Regions from separate parts of the Homo sapiens genome. Here regions 1, 2 and 3 are each linked to region 4. Evidence: promoter capture Hi-C in 16 types of primary human blood cells and fetal thymus (Javierre and others, 2016). All regions are on one chromosome and are shown on one strand. The core of a region is centred on a gene start or on the middle of the fragment in contact, and the rest is flanking DNA. Distances in the headings are between cores, read along the strand shown. Region 1 holds the start of B4GALT1 (beta-1,4-galactosyltransferase 1). Region 2 holds the start of MLLT3 (MLLT3 super elongation complex subunit). Region 3 holds the start of MTAP (methylthioadenosine phosphorylase). Region 4 holds the start of C9orf72 (C9orf72-SMCR8 complex subunit).

What was found. Contacts are between HindIII fragments. The CHiCAGO score rates a contact against its expected background, and 5 or more counts as called.
Region 1: a contact is called between the fragment with the promoter of B4GALT1 here and the fragment with the promoter of C9orf72 in region 4, in 1 of 17 cell types (neutrophils). The highest score is 6.0, in neutrophils.
Region 2: the fragment with the promoter of MLLT3 here is called in contact with the fragment with the promoter of C9orf72 in region 4 in 1 of 17 cell types (total B cells); the score reaches 5.4 in total B cells.
Region 3: the fragment with the promoter of MTAP here is called in contact with the fragment with the promoter of C9orf72 in region 4 in 1 of 17 cell types (total B cells); the score reaches 5.1 in total B cells.

What each region holds. Positions count from the first base shown.
Region 1 is chr9:33,166,023-33,168,722 of GRCh38, reverse strand. It overlaps B4GALT1 (beta-1,4-galactosyltransferase 1), which reads left to right and starts at 1,387. Exons shown (of 6, transcript NM_001497.4): 1 at 1,387-1,965. The coding sequence starts at 1,554. B4GALT1-AS1 (B4GALT1 antisense RNA 1) reads right to left here and starts at 1,775. Exons shown (of 3, transcript NR_108110.1): 1 at 1,677-1,775. RefSeq lists enhancers at 804-883, 406-970, 954-1,053, 971-1,536 and silencers at 1,204-1,603, 1,362-1,635. The HindIII fragment of the contact is 9,103 bases long and covers 1-2,700 here.
Region 2 is chr9:20,621,073-20,624,003 of GRCh38, reverse strand. MLLT3 (MLLT3 super elongation complex subunit) reads left to right here and starts at 1,505. Exons shown (of 11, transcript NM_004529.4): 1 at 1,505-1,759. The coding sequence starts at 1,748. RefSeq lists silencers at 907-1,046, 1,067-1,526, 1,947-2,096, 2,167-2,216. The HindIII fragment of the contact is 2,564 bases long and covers 769-2,931 here.
Region 3 is chr9:21,801,174-21,804,143 of GRCh38, reverse strand. MTAP (methylthioadenosine phosphorylase) reads right to left here and starts at 1,508. Exons shown (of 8, transcript NM_002451.4): 1 at 1,363-1,508. The coding sequence starts at 1,395. RefSeq lists enhancers at 666-875, 1,370-1,998, 1,999-2,629 and a silencer at 1,166-1,325. The HindIII fragment of the contact is 2,099 bases long and covers 586-2,684 here.
Region 4 is chr9:27,572,215-27,575,207 of GRCh38, reverse strand. C9orf72 (C9orf72-SMCR8 complex subunit) reads left to right here and starts at 1,727. Exons shown (of 11, transcript NM_018325.5): 1 at 1,727-1,777. RefSeq lists enhancers at 1,118-1,645, 2,244-2,333 and a silencer at 1,654-1,733. The HindIII fragment of the contact is 3,790 bases long and covers 1-2,286 here.

The DNA of each region.
Region 1 (2,700 bases), core at 138-2,637, 5.6 Mb before region 4:
AAGAACATCATGGACTATGGCTGGGGCCTTCAGCAACTGGGGAAGAAGTCCAGAGAGGAGACAGAAATGGCCAGTGAAGTGAGGAAGATCAGAAGGACCTGGTGTCCAGGAAGTCAAGTGAGGAAAGTTGATTCTGTATGATCACAACCAAAGTGTCAACTCATAAGCCTTATTTTCTCATCTGTGAAATGGACACCGTAACACCACCTACTTCATGGCAGATAGTACTGGCACACAGCAAACTCTCAAAATAAGGTAGCTACTGTTATTCCCTGATGGTTGGCTGCCAGAGCCCTCAACTTCCCTATCCACATTACTGACAGCACCTCCATGAGTCTTTCTCTGGGGTGAGGTGTCTCTGCTCACTCAGGGCCTGAGGCCTCTGGGTCAAATCGAGGTCAAGTGGCTTCAGTGCCTAAGTCTCTCACCCACACAGCCTTCAGCCCTTACTTGCAAATCAACAAAGGGTAAACCTGTAGAAAACATGGGTTTCGGAGCCAGAATTCTGCCTCTTGCCAGCTGTGGGCTCTTAGGAAAGTTTCTTAATCTGCCGGGGCCCCACTCTACGACATGGGGAGAACTGCTACTTCATGGGACAGTGGGTAGCCCAGTGTAGACTGTAACGCCGGCTGATCTCCTGCACGCTGGCCTGGGAGTTAGAGGCTTCTTGCTGCTCTCCTCTTCAAAGTATACAGGACTCCCGCCACACACACATCTGGAACCAAGCTGGTCTGAGAGCCCCTTATAGCCCAGGCTACCTGATGGGGAGGCACAGAAGTGGCAACCCGTCCACTTTCTTTGCCGCAGGACCCCCCGTTAAGCAGCGGGGTCCAGCCGGGCTGAGTTAGGGAGGGGGTTTCGAACGTGCCACTCCTCGCCCGGCGTCGAAGCCCGTTTCCTGGGTAACCTTTTTCTGCCTCTCTTCCTAGCCCACCAAGGCCCACTGGCCAGAACGCCGCCGCGGCCCCAAACCACTCCAGATAACCACCCGCCAGCTGTCCTCTCCGTTCTCTCCGCCGCCGCGCTGCAGGCCCAGGCTCGCACCCGAGTCCCTTCGCACCCCAGGAAGTGGCGCGGCCTGTCGAGGGCAGCGTGGAGGAGGAAGAGGAGGCGCGGCTCAACGCGACCGAAGCTCCGCCGCAAAGGCTCGGGAGGAAGAGGGCGGTGCGCGGCCAAGCGTCGGAGCTGCAGTCATACTCCGGGGACCCCACGACGGCGCCCCGCCCGCTGCCCACCCTCCCGAGGCCCCGCCCAGCGCGCCCATCCCGCCACGGGCTGCCCCGCCTTCCCGCCCTCGTCCAGAAAACCCCGCGCCCGGCCCCGCCCCCGCCTTCGCCGGGGCCCCGCCCCTCCCCTCTCCGCCGGCGCCTCGGGCGGCTTCTCGCCGCTCCCAGGTCTGGCTGGCTGGAGGAGTCTCAGCTCTCAGCCGCTCGCCCGCCCCCGCTCCGGGCCCTCCCCTAGTCGCCGCTGTGGGGCAGCGCCTGGCGGGCGGCCCGCGGGCGGGTCGCCTCCCCTCCTGTAGCCCACACCCTTCTTAAAGCGGCGGCGGGAAGATGAGGCTTCGGGAGCCGCTCCTGAGCGGCAGCGCCGCGATGCCAGGCGCGTCCCTACAGCGGGCCTGCCGCCTGCTCGTGGCCGTCTGCGCTCTGCACCTTGGCGTCACCCTCGTTTACTACCTGGCTGGCCGCGACCTGAGCCGCCTGCCCCAACTGGTCGGAGTCTCCACACCGCTGCAGGGCGGCTCGAACAGTGCCGCCGCCATCGGGCAGTCCTCCGGGGAGCTCCGGACCGGAGGGGCCCGGCCGCCGCCTCCTCTAGGCGCCTCCTCCCAGCCGCGCCCGGGTGGCGACTCCAGCCCAGTCGTGGATTCTGGCCCTGGCCCCGCTAGCAACTTGACCTCGGTCCCAGTGCCCCACACCACCGCACTGTCGCTGCCCGCCTGCCCTGAGGAGTCCCCGCTGCTTGGTAAGGACTCGGGTCGGCGCCAGTCGGAGGATTGGGACCCCCCCGGATTTCCCCGACAGGGTCCCCCAGACATTCCCTCAGGCTGGCTCTTCTACGACAGCCAGCCTCCCTCTTCTGGATCAGAGTTTTAAATCCCAGACAGAGGCTTGGGACTGGATGGGAGAGAAGGTTTGCGAGGTGGGTCCCTGGGGAGTCCTGTTGGAGGCGTGGGGCCGGGACCGCACAGGGAAGTCCCGAGGCCCCTCTAGCCCCAGAACCAGAGAAGGCCTTGGAGACTTCCCTGCTGTGGCCCGAGGCTCAGGAAGTTTTGGAGTTTGGGTCTGCTTAGGGCTTCGAGCAGCCTTGCACTGAGAACTCTGGTAGGGACCTCGAGTAATCCACTCCCTTTTGGGGACTGACGTGAGGCTCCCGGTGGGGAAGGAGACTGACCTCTCGGTTCACGTGTCTTGCCATAGAGCCACTCTCCTGAGTGGGTTTTTCTCCTGATCGTTTGGGCCAAGTGACTTCTCTCTGAACCTCATATTTCTCTTCTGGGATAATAAATGGTCACCCTTTCAAGGGGTTGTTTTGGAAGATATTGTGAACAATGGTAAATAAGGGCTTAATTAATGAGGGTAAGCCCTCAGTAAATTGTCACTGTGTGTTCATTTCTTCCTCTGTGTGGATCGTGACCGAGAGCCCTTCCCCCTAGCCTCCTCCTGGTATGGGTACCCAAAACCTAGGTGAGCAGGGATC
Region 2 (2,931 bases), core at 256-2,755, 7.0 Mb after region 4:
AAAGGGAAAAGAGGAAAGCAAGGAAGTTCAGTCAGAAAGAGGAAGAGGGACAAAGAGGAAAGAAAGGGACAAAGAGGAAAGAAAGGGACAAAGAGGAAAGAAAGAGGGACAAAGAGGAAAGGCAAGGAGAAGAGAAGGAAAAATCAAGGTTCAGCAAGAAGTTGGAAGGCGAGGGAAAAAGGGGAGTAAAGAGAAGGCAAAAGAGGTCTAAGGGCTAGGAAGATGCAAGGATCTTTTTTTAACGAACCAAAGTCACATCCATCTTTCACTTTCAAATCAATCGTCTAGATCTTATCCGTTTCCTTTTTAAAGGTTATCTGCGTCTGTAAAGGAAGCCAGTAGTTGATACTCCTCTCCGCGCCCCACGCGTGGCCGCGCTGTTCTATCTCCGGCCACTGAGATCAAATACAACGCGAGTGAGAACATTTGCAGAGGCGCGACTCTGGGAACACTCCTGCGACTGGCTGTCACCCGGGAGTCTAACCGGATTAATACTCAGAGATGGATTACGCTGGTTGTCACCAATACGCCTAAAGATTATAATCCAATTTACGCACATTACAGTCAGTATTAACTTTATCTGCTATTTTAAGACTCCCGGTTGCCCCGCGCGTCCTCAGAGGACAATCCTCCACGTTCTGATGCAACTCAGTAGGCTGTCAGGAGGGGAAGCCCCCCGAAGAAAACAACTCCAAGCCTGGTCCCCGAGGGTCTGTACCCGGCACTCCCAGGTGTCTTGCTTTCACCTGGGCACCGCTTTATGAAGCTTCCCAGCCGGGGATTACCAAAGCGGAAGGCGTTCCCTTGCAAGGAAATAGCATCCTTGTTTCTCCCTTGTTCATTTCATTTTCAAATTTTCGGTGGCGGTGGCAGAAGGGCGGGGAGTGAGGGTGGCGGGCGGGTGCCTGTGAGTGGATGGGGCAGGGGGCCAGGGGATCGTTGCGGGTTAGAACAGCCTCAGTCATTGCTATTTTCATGCTCGTTTTTTGCAGGATGGCATTTCTCTCGCTCTCTTTAAGTAAGTTTGTTTGGGTGTGAGTTCTTGTCTTTTCAGCACAAAACCACAGAAATACGTGGTGGAAAGTAAAAGAAAGCCCACTCCCTCCTCCCCGTGCGTACTAGCTAAGGACTTGATTTAACACCCCCTCTCCGGCTGCTGAGGGCTCTAAGCAGTGGCTACATTCCAGCAGTTTTAATCCGTTTTTTATTGTAGGGCGAGCAGAGTTTACACAGGGGCTGGGATGGCTCCCCAGCTGGCCGCTCTCCCCACTCCTGCGTCCCCTCCCTGCCACCCCCCCAGCAGGAACCTGTTACTTTAAGCGAGGCTTTCCAGTGTGGCGCTGCGGGCCGCCGGGGTTTCGGGAGGTGGCAGGTGATTGGCTCTTTCGAGCTCCCCCTGGCTCGCTCGCTCTGCCTCCCCGCGCGCTCCGCCCCGCCCGCAAGCCCTCCCTCCGCCCTGTGAGGCTCGGAGCCCGGGTGTCAGGCGCCACGGCGCATGCTCCGCAATCATCTTCTTTACCCTGGAGCTGCTGCTGCTGCTGCTGCTTTTGCTTTTGGGGCTGAGTTTAATAAGCGAGCGAGCGAGCAAGCGAGCGCGGGGGGAAAAAGGCAGAGAATGTCCGCCATCTACCCTCCGCTCCTGGGCGCGCTCTCATTCATAGCAGCCTCTTCATGAATTACAGCTGAGGGGGGGCGGAGGAGGGGGGGGTACCACACAACACCCCAGCAAACCTCCGGGCCCCCAGGCATGGCTAGCTCGGTAAGTACGCGCAAAAATAATAATAAAAGCCCTCCCCCACTTTCCTTCCTCGCCCTGCGCCGCCGCAGCCCAGACAGCGCCAGCGCTCCGCGGTTCCAATTAGAGAAAGGTTGGTACGGCTTGCAGGGAGCTGCCGCCTCTCCCTCAGCCTCCGCTCCCCTCCTCCCCCACCCCCCCCCGGCGCGCACACAGACACACAGACACACACACACTCACACACGCTCACACTCGCCCCTCCACCCCCCGCGCCTCCCTCCCTCCTCGCCTCTTTGCAGTCACAAGAAGCGCACTCACACACTCCCTCTCGCTCACACGCGCGCACTCACACACACACACACACACGGTGGAAGGAGGCGAATAATAACTCAGCCATATTTCAGCCGCCGCCGCCGGGAGCTGCGGGCACAGTCCGGGGACGCGGCGAGCAGCCTCGGCGGCCGCACCTCCGCAAAGCGCCGCGGCCGCTACGATGGTGCGTTCTCCGCGGCGCGCGTGTGTGAGCCGAAGTGTGCGGGGCTGACAGCGGCGGGGCCGCACGCAACTTTGCCCCAGCGCCGGGAGGTGCTGAGCGCGAGCCGAGGCTCGGCGGCTGTCCGCCCGCCGCCCTGCCTTTCTGAATTTCATTTTTTGGGGGGAGGTGGGAGATACTTTGGAGCCACTTGGGCTCTTGAAAGTGTGTTGCGGGGGCTCGGTTCGACTGGCCTCGCCGATCGCGTGGGGCTTTTCGCTGGGGGGTGCGGGGTGCTCTAAGTTATGGATGCCTCGGCGTGTTTTCCTGCGGGCGTGTGTGTGTGTTTCAGTGTGTATGACGACGTCTCATTTTTGTTGTGCACGAACCCCGTGGCAAGAGCACGGGAGTTTGTGCCCATCAGCAGAGGCTGCCTGTAGTTTCCATTTCGCCTGGCACAGCGCTCCACACGCACGCACACACACGTACACAAAGACTTCCTCGGCGTGTGCCTGTCGCCGCGGTACTTTCGGGGAGGGGGCTCGCCAGGAGCCCTTCGGTCCCCCTGGGTCCCAGCCACCTCCCCTCCCACGCCGGGAAACCGCCCCGGCATCGCCTTCTGATTTGTTTCCGATGCATTTGTTGTCGTGCTTGTCGTGGCTGAGTGTGTTCTCCCTCTTTTCCCCGACCCCCTTCCCGACTGGGGATAACATTCCGTTACAAT
Region 3 (2,970 bases), core at 259-2,758, 5.8 Mb after region 4:
GCCCTCCTAGCAAATTCTGCAGTAAAATTCTCAGTTTATAGATGAGCACCTAAGAGAAGTCACATACTTCACACGAGTTTCATGAAAACCATTTCTGCCTTGTTTCCGCCAAACAATGAAGGCAGGGGAGAGGCCTTCTATAAATATTTGCTGGATGCAAGATTCTTTTCAAAATGACAAAATAAGTTTCATATATAAGTCTGGATGCAACACCCTTCACCATTCCTCTCATTCTAAGTGGCTCATTTAAACCTGCAAGGGCGTAATAAACTAATCTGGCTGATTACACACTGACCGCAGAAATTCGCCTTCTCCCGGGAAAACTGCAGTCGAGTGTAGGGAATCGAGATGCTTTGGAGAAGATCGCAGACCTTCCTATCCCATAGGCCAAAAATTTCTAAAAATCAAACAAGAACGCATTCTTAGCCAGTAATAAACTGCCTAGAAGAGGTCTTAAGTTTTATCATCAATTTTTCTTTACGTGCTGTAATTCTCTCTCGGAATACTAACCAGGAGAGAAGTGTTTAAAACCCCAGGGAAGCCAGCTGCTACTCTCAGAACTCGTGCCCTCCTCAGCACAAAGCTTCCCACCGCACAATGACCCCTTGTATCAAGGCCTCTCAGGGCCTAGGGCACAAGGAAATTGAACTCTAACTTGCAAGGCTGCAAAACAAAGCAGTTTCAAGCCAGAGGCCTCCAAACAGTGCAGCCCTAAAAACGGACGCCTGTACTCCTTTTCGAAGAAAGTCTCAGAATTCTTACAGTATTACGCTGCTGGGGAAAACTTCAGCGCGGAGAAGGCCTACGTTTGGAGGAAAAAGAAGCCGGAAGCATACAAAAGAGCAAGTAAGCAGTTCTCCCACGTGGGCCGCAGGCAACAAGCAGAGTCAGAGAGCGGAAGCTGGAGTCCCGCAAGGCACCAGGAGACGGTCACAGAAGCTGCAGGCGCCCGGACACCTCCTGACTCCAGCCGGGTGTCTTTCTTGGAAGAAGAGTGGTTCTCAGGAATGGTGGTGGCATGGGTGCAGCCTCTCCCATCCACGACCTCTCTCTCTAAAGGGGTGCCTACGCCCTACAGGGTGCGGGTGCAGATAAGCCAAAAGGTGGTGTGTGTGTGTGTGTGTGTGTGTGTGTGTGTGTGTGTGTGTGTGTGTGTGTTGGCGGTGCGGCAGGGGGATCATTTGCAAGCGTACCCTCTCCTCGCGCGGCAAGTGAGTCCCGAGTGCCGCGCCCCAGTCCCTCCCCGCGGCGGCAAGGGACGCACGGGCCGGGCGCATGGCCCCCGGAGGCGCGGTCCCCCGGCGCGGGGGCGAGAAGGCATCCGGCAGGGCGAACCGCTGCGGCTGGGAGGGCTCATCTCACCTTCACGGCGGTGGTGGTGGTGCCAGAGGCCATGTCTGCACGGGAAAGGAATCTGCAGTGGGCGAGCGCTCGGGACTAAGGGAACCAAGCGAGCCACAGAGCGGTGGCTGTGCCAACCTCACTGCGCGGGAGTGAGCAGTGCGGAGACCAGGGGCGGGCCTTGACTCCTCCTCTTCCTCCCCGGGACAGCTGGATTGGCTGCTTGTGTGGGATCTCCCCCGCCACCCCTTCCCCAAATCGAAGTTCCCGCGTTCCGCCCCTTTTGCAGACCTTTCCGGTTCTCCAGGTTTTTGTCGTTTTTTTTTTTTTTTTATCCCCAGTTATAACTAACGGATAATGATAATAATGGAGACCATTTATAGAGCGCTGTATTGTTCCAGACTGTGTGTTTTGCACTTTAATTGGCTTACTTAACTTTCGCTAAAACCTTATAAGGAAGAGCAGCACTCCCTGCTTGGCCCAATATTAGTGGCGTCGGAGGCCTCAGCTGCAAAATCTGGCCCGGCGGCATTCCAGAAGTTCTCGCGGGAGGGAGAATCCTCACCAAGGCGGGTACTGGCCGGCCACGGAGATTCTCTTAGGCAGCTAACGCGGGGCGGCCGCCGCGGCGGGGGCAAGATTTGTCCTTCCTGCGGCTGCGAACCCACCGCGGGTTTGCGTATTTCCCTTGATTCCTGGAGGACAGAGCTGGGATGGACTTGACCCAAGACTCAGGGATGACGAAAGGGAAATAAACAGAGTAACGTAGTACTGGATAATCTTTCTGATTTACGAACTATGATTTACTCATCTTCAATTTGAGGGGCCGCTTTTAGGGGGTTGAGACCTTGCACAACTCCCAGTCTGGCTCTACCTGGCTGGGGGCATCTTTAACCCGTTCTACGCCGGAGCGGCATCGAATACACCTGGATTCAGAATCCAAACTCAGGTCTCCGTCATTCAACACTAGCAGGACGCACACACACACACACCACGAGCCCTTTACAGGGATAATCCCTCATGCTTACAGCCCCCGTCCCTTCCCTACTGGGGTAATCCAATTTAACCTTCCTTGATGGATTAAGCGTTCTGAAACAAAATAATGGGTGGCAAGGATCTTAAGGGTGGACTCTGAGATGTAGAAATGCTGCAAATTAGCCTGGACGTGGGAGGAGGGCCGAGAAAGGGGATGCTTTCCTCTTTCCTTACAGCAGCAAAACACGGAAACAAAACACAAGTACAATTTAATTCAAAATACCACTGTGTGATGTTAGCCTGGATGCTGCTCATAGAACCTATTTACTTAAACAGTATAGACTTTCGTCCTCACATTACTATAAGCTTTAGGTCTAAATTTTCTCACAATGTAAAGTTTTCTTTCTTCTGTTACAATCATCTATTTCTTTTAAGTTATAAAATGCAATGGCAAAAGAAGAATGAAAGTAGAATCCGGGTGCTCCTTTGAGGAATAGGAGACAGGGAATCCTTCGCGGATGAAGACAATGTAGCTTTCTAGGGGCCTTTCTGCCGATTGCTCTATTGAGGAGCAGGAAGCCCACCACTCAGAAGTGAACCATTGAGGGCACAGGGATGCCCTAGGCTTTATGGCCGCTACCTAAGTAGGGGATC
Region 4 (2,993 bases), core at 478-2,977:
TATAAATTCAGTTGTTTTTTAATTCCACGTATAAGTGAAGTACAACTCAGTGTAGAAACTTGGTAAATGCTAGCTACTTGTTATAAGCTGTCAGTCAAAATAAAAATACAGAGATGAATCTCTAAATTAAGTGATTTATTTGGGAAGAAAGAATTGCAATTAGGGCATACATGTAGATCAGATGGTCTTCGGTATATCCACACAACAAAGAAAAGGGGGAGGTTTTGTTAAAAAAGAGAAATGTTACATAGTGCTCTTTGAGAAAATTCATTGGCACTATTAAGGATCTGAGGAGCTGGTGAGTTTCAACTGGTGAGTGATGGTGGTAGATAAAATTAGAGCTGCAGCAGGTCATTTTAGCAACTATTAGATAAAACTGGTCTCAGGTCACAACGGGCAGTTGCAGCAGCTGGACTTGGAGAGAATTACACTGTGGGAGCAGTGTCATTTGTCCTAAGTGCTTTTCTACCCCCTACCCCCACTATTTTAGTTGGGTATAAAAAGAATGACCCAATTTGTATGATCAACTTTCACAAAGCATAGAACAGTAGGAAAAGGGTCTGTTTCTGCAGAAGGTGTAGACGTTGAGAGCCATTTTGTGTATTTATTCCTCCCTTTCTTCCTCGGTGAATGATTAAAACGTTCTGTGTGATTTTTAGTGATGAAAAAGATTAAATGCTACTCACTGTAGTAAGTGCCATCTCACACTTGCAGATCAAAAGGCACACAGTTTAAAAAACCTTTGTTTTTTTACACATCTGAGTGGTGTAAATGCTACTCATCTGTAGTAAGTGGAATCTATACACCTGCAGACCAAAAGACGCAAGGTTTCAAAAATCTTTGTGTTTTTTACACATCAAACAGAATGGTACGTTTTTCAAAAGTTAAAAAAAAACAACTCATCCACATATTGCAACTAGCAAAAATGACATTCCCCAGTGTGAAAATCATGCTTGAGAGAATTCTTACATGTAAAGGCAAAATTGCGATGACTTTGCAGGGGACCGTGGGATTCCCGCCCGCAGTGCCGGAGCTGTCCCCTACCAGGGTTTGCAGTGGAGTTTTGAATGCACTTAACAGTGTCTTACGGTAAAAACAAAATTTCATCCACCAATTATGTGTTGAGCGCCCACTGCCTACCAAGCACAAACAAAACCATTCAAAACCACGAAATCGTCTTCACTTTCTCCAGATCCAGCAGCCTCCCCTATTAAGGTTCGCACACGCTATTGCGCCAACGCTCCTCCAGAGCGGGTCTTAAGATAAAAGAACAGGACAAGTTGCCCCGCCCCATTTCGCTAGCCTCGTGAGAAAACGTCATCGCACATAGAAAACAGACAGACGTAACCTACGGTGTCCCGCTAGGAAAGAGAGGTGCGTCAAACAGCGACAAGTTCCGCCCACGTAAAAGATGACGCTTGGTGTGTCAGCCGTCCCTGCTGCCCGGTTGCTTCTCTTTTGGGGGCGGGGTCTAGCAAGAGCAGGTGTGGGTTTAGGAGGTGTGTGTTTTTGTTTTTCCCACCCTCTCTCCCCACTACTTGCTCTCACAGTACTCGCTGAGGGTGAACAAGAAAAGACCTGATAAAGATTAACCAGAAGAAAACAAGGAGGGAAACAACCGCAGCCTGTAGCAAGCTCTGGAACTCAGGAGTCGCGCGCTAGGGGCCGGGGCCGGGGCCGGGGCGTGGTCGGGGCGGGCCCGGGGGCGGGCCCGGGGCGGGGCTGCGGTTGCGGTGCCTGCGCCCGCGGCGGCGGAGGCGCAGGCGGTGGCGAGTGGGTGAGTGAGGAGGCGGCATCCTGGCGGGTGGCTGTTTGGGGTTCGGCTGCCGGGAAGAGGCGCGGGTAGAAGCGGGGGCTCTCCTCAGAGCTCGACGCATTTTTACTTTCCCTCTCATTTCTCTGACCGAAGCTGGGTGTCGGGCTTTCGCCTCTAGCGACTGGTGGAATTGCCTGCATCCGGGCCCCGGGCTTCCCGGCGGCGGCGGCGGCGGCGGCGGCGCAGGGACAAGGGATGGGGATCTGGCCTCTTCCTTGCTTTCCCGCCCTCAGTACCCGAGCTGTCTCCTTCCCGGGGACCCGCTGGGAGCGCTGCCGCTGCGGGCTCGAGAAAAGGGAGCCTCGGGTACTGAGAGGCCTCGCCTGGGGGAAGGCCGGAGGGTGGGCGGCGCGCGGCTTCTGCGGACCAAGTCGGGGTTCGCTAGGAACCCGAGACGGTCCCTGCCGGCGAGGAGATCATGCGGGATGAGATGGGGGTGTGGAGACGCCTGCACAATTTCAGCCCAAGCTTCTAGAGAGTGGTGATGACTTGCATATGAGGGCAGCAATGCAAGTCGGTGTGCTCCCCATTCTGTGGGACATGACCTGGTTGCTTCACAGCTCCGAGATGACACAGACTTGCTTAAAGGAAGTGACTATTGTGACTTGGGCATCACTTGACTGATGGTAATCAGTTGTCTAAAGAAGTGCACAGATTACATGTCCGTGTGCTCATTGGGTCTATCTGGCCGCGTTGAACACCACCAGGCTTTGTATTCAGAAACAGGAGGGAGGTCCTGCACTTTCCCAGGAGGGGTGGCCCTTTCAGATGCAATCGAGATTGTTAGGCTCTGGGAGAGTAGTTGCCTGGTTGTGGCAGTTGGTAAATTTCTATTCAAACAGTTGCCATGCACCAGTTGTTCACAACAAGGGTACGTAATCTGTCTGGCATTACTTCTACTTTTGTACAAAGGATCAAAAAAAAAAAAGATACTGTTAAGATATGATTTTTCTCAGACTTTGGGAAACTTTTAACATAATCTGTGAATATCACAGAAACAAGACTATCATATAGGGGATATTAATAACCTGGAGTCAGAATACTTGAAATACGGTGTCATTTGACACGGGCATTGTTGTCACCACCTCTGCCAAGGCCTGCCACTTTAGGAAAACCCTGAATCAGTTGGAAACTGCTACATGCTGATAGTACATCTGAAACAAGAACGAGAGTAATT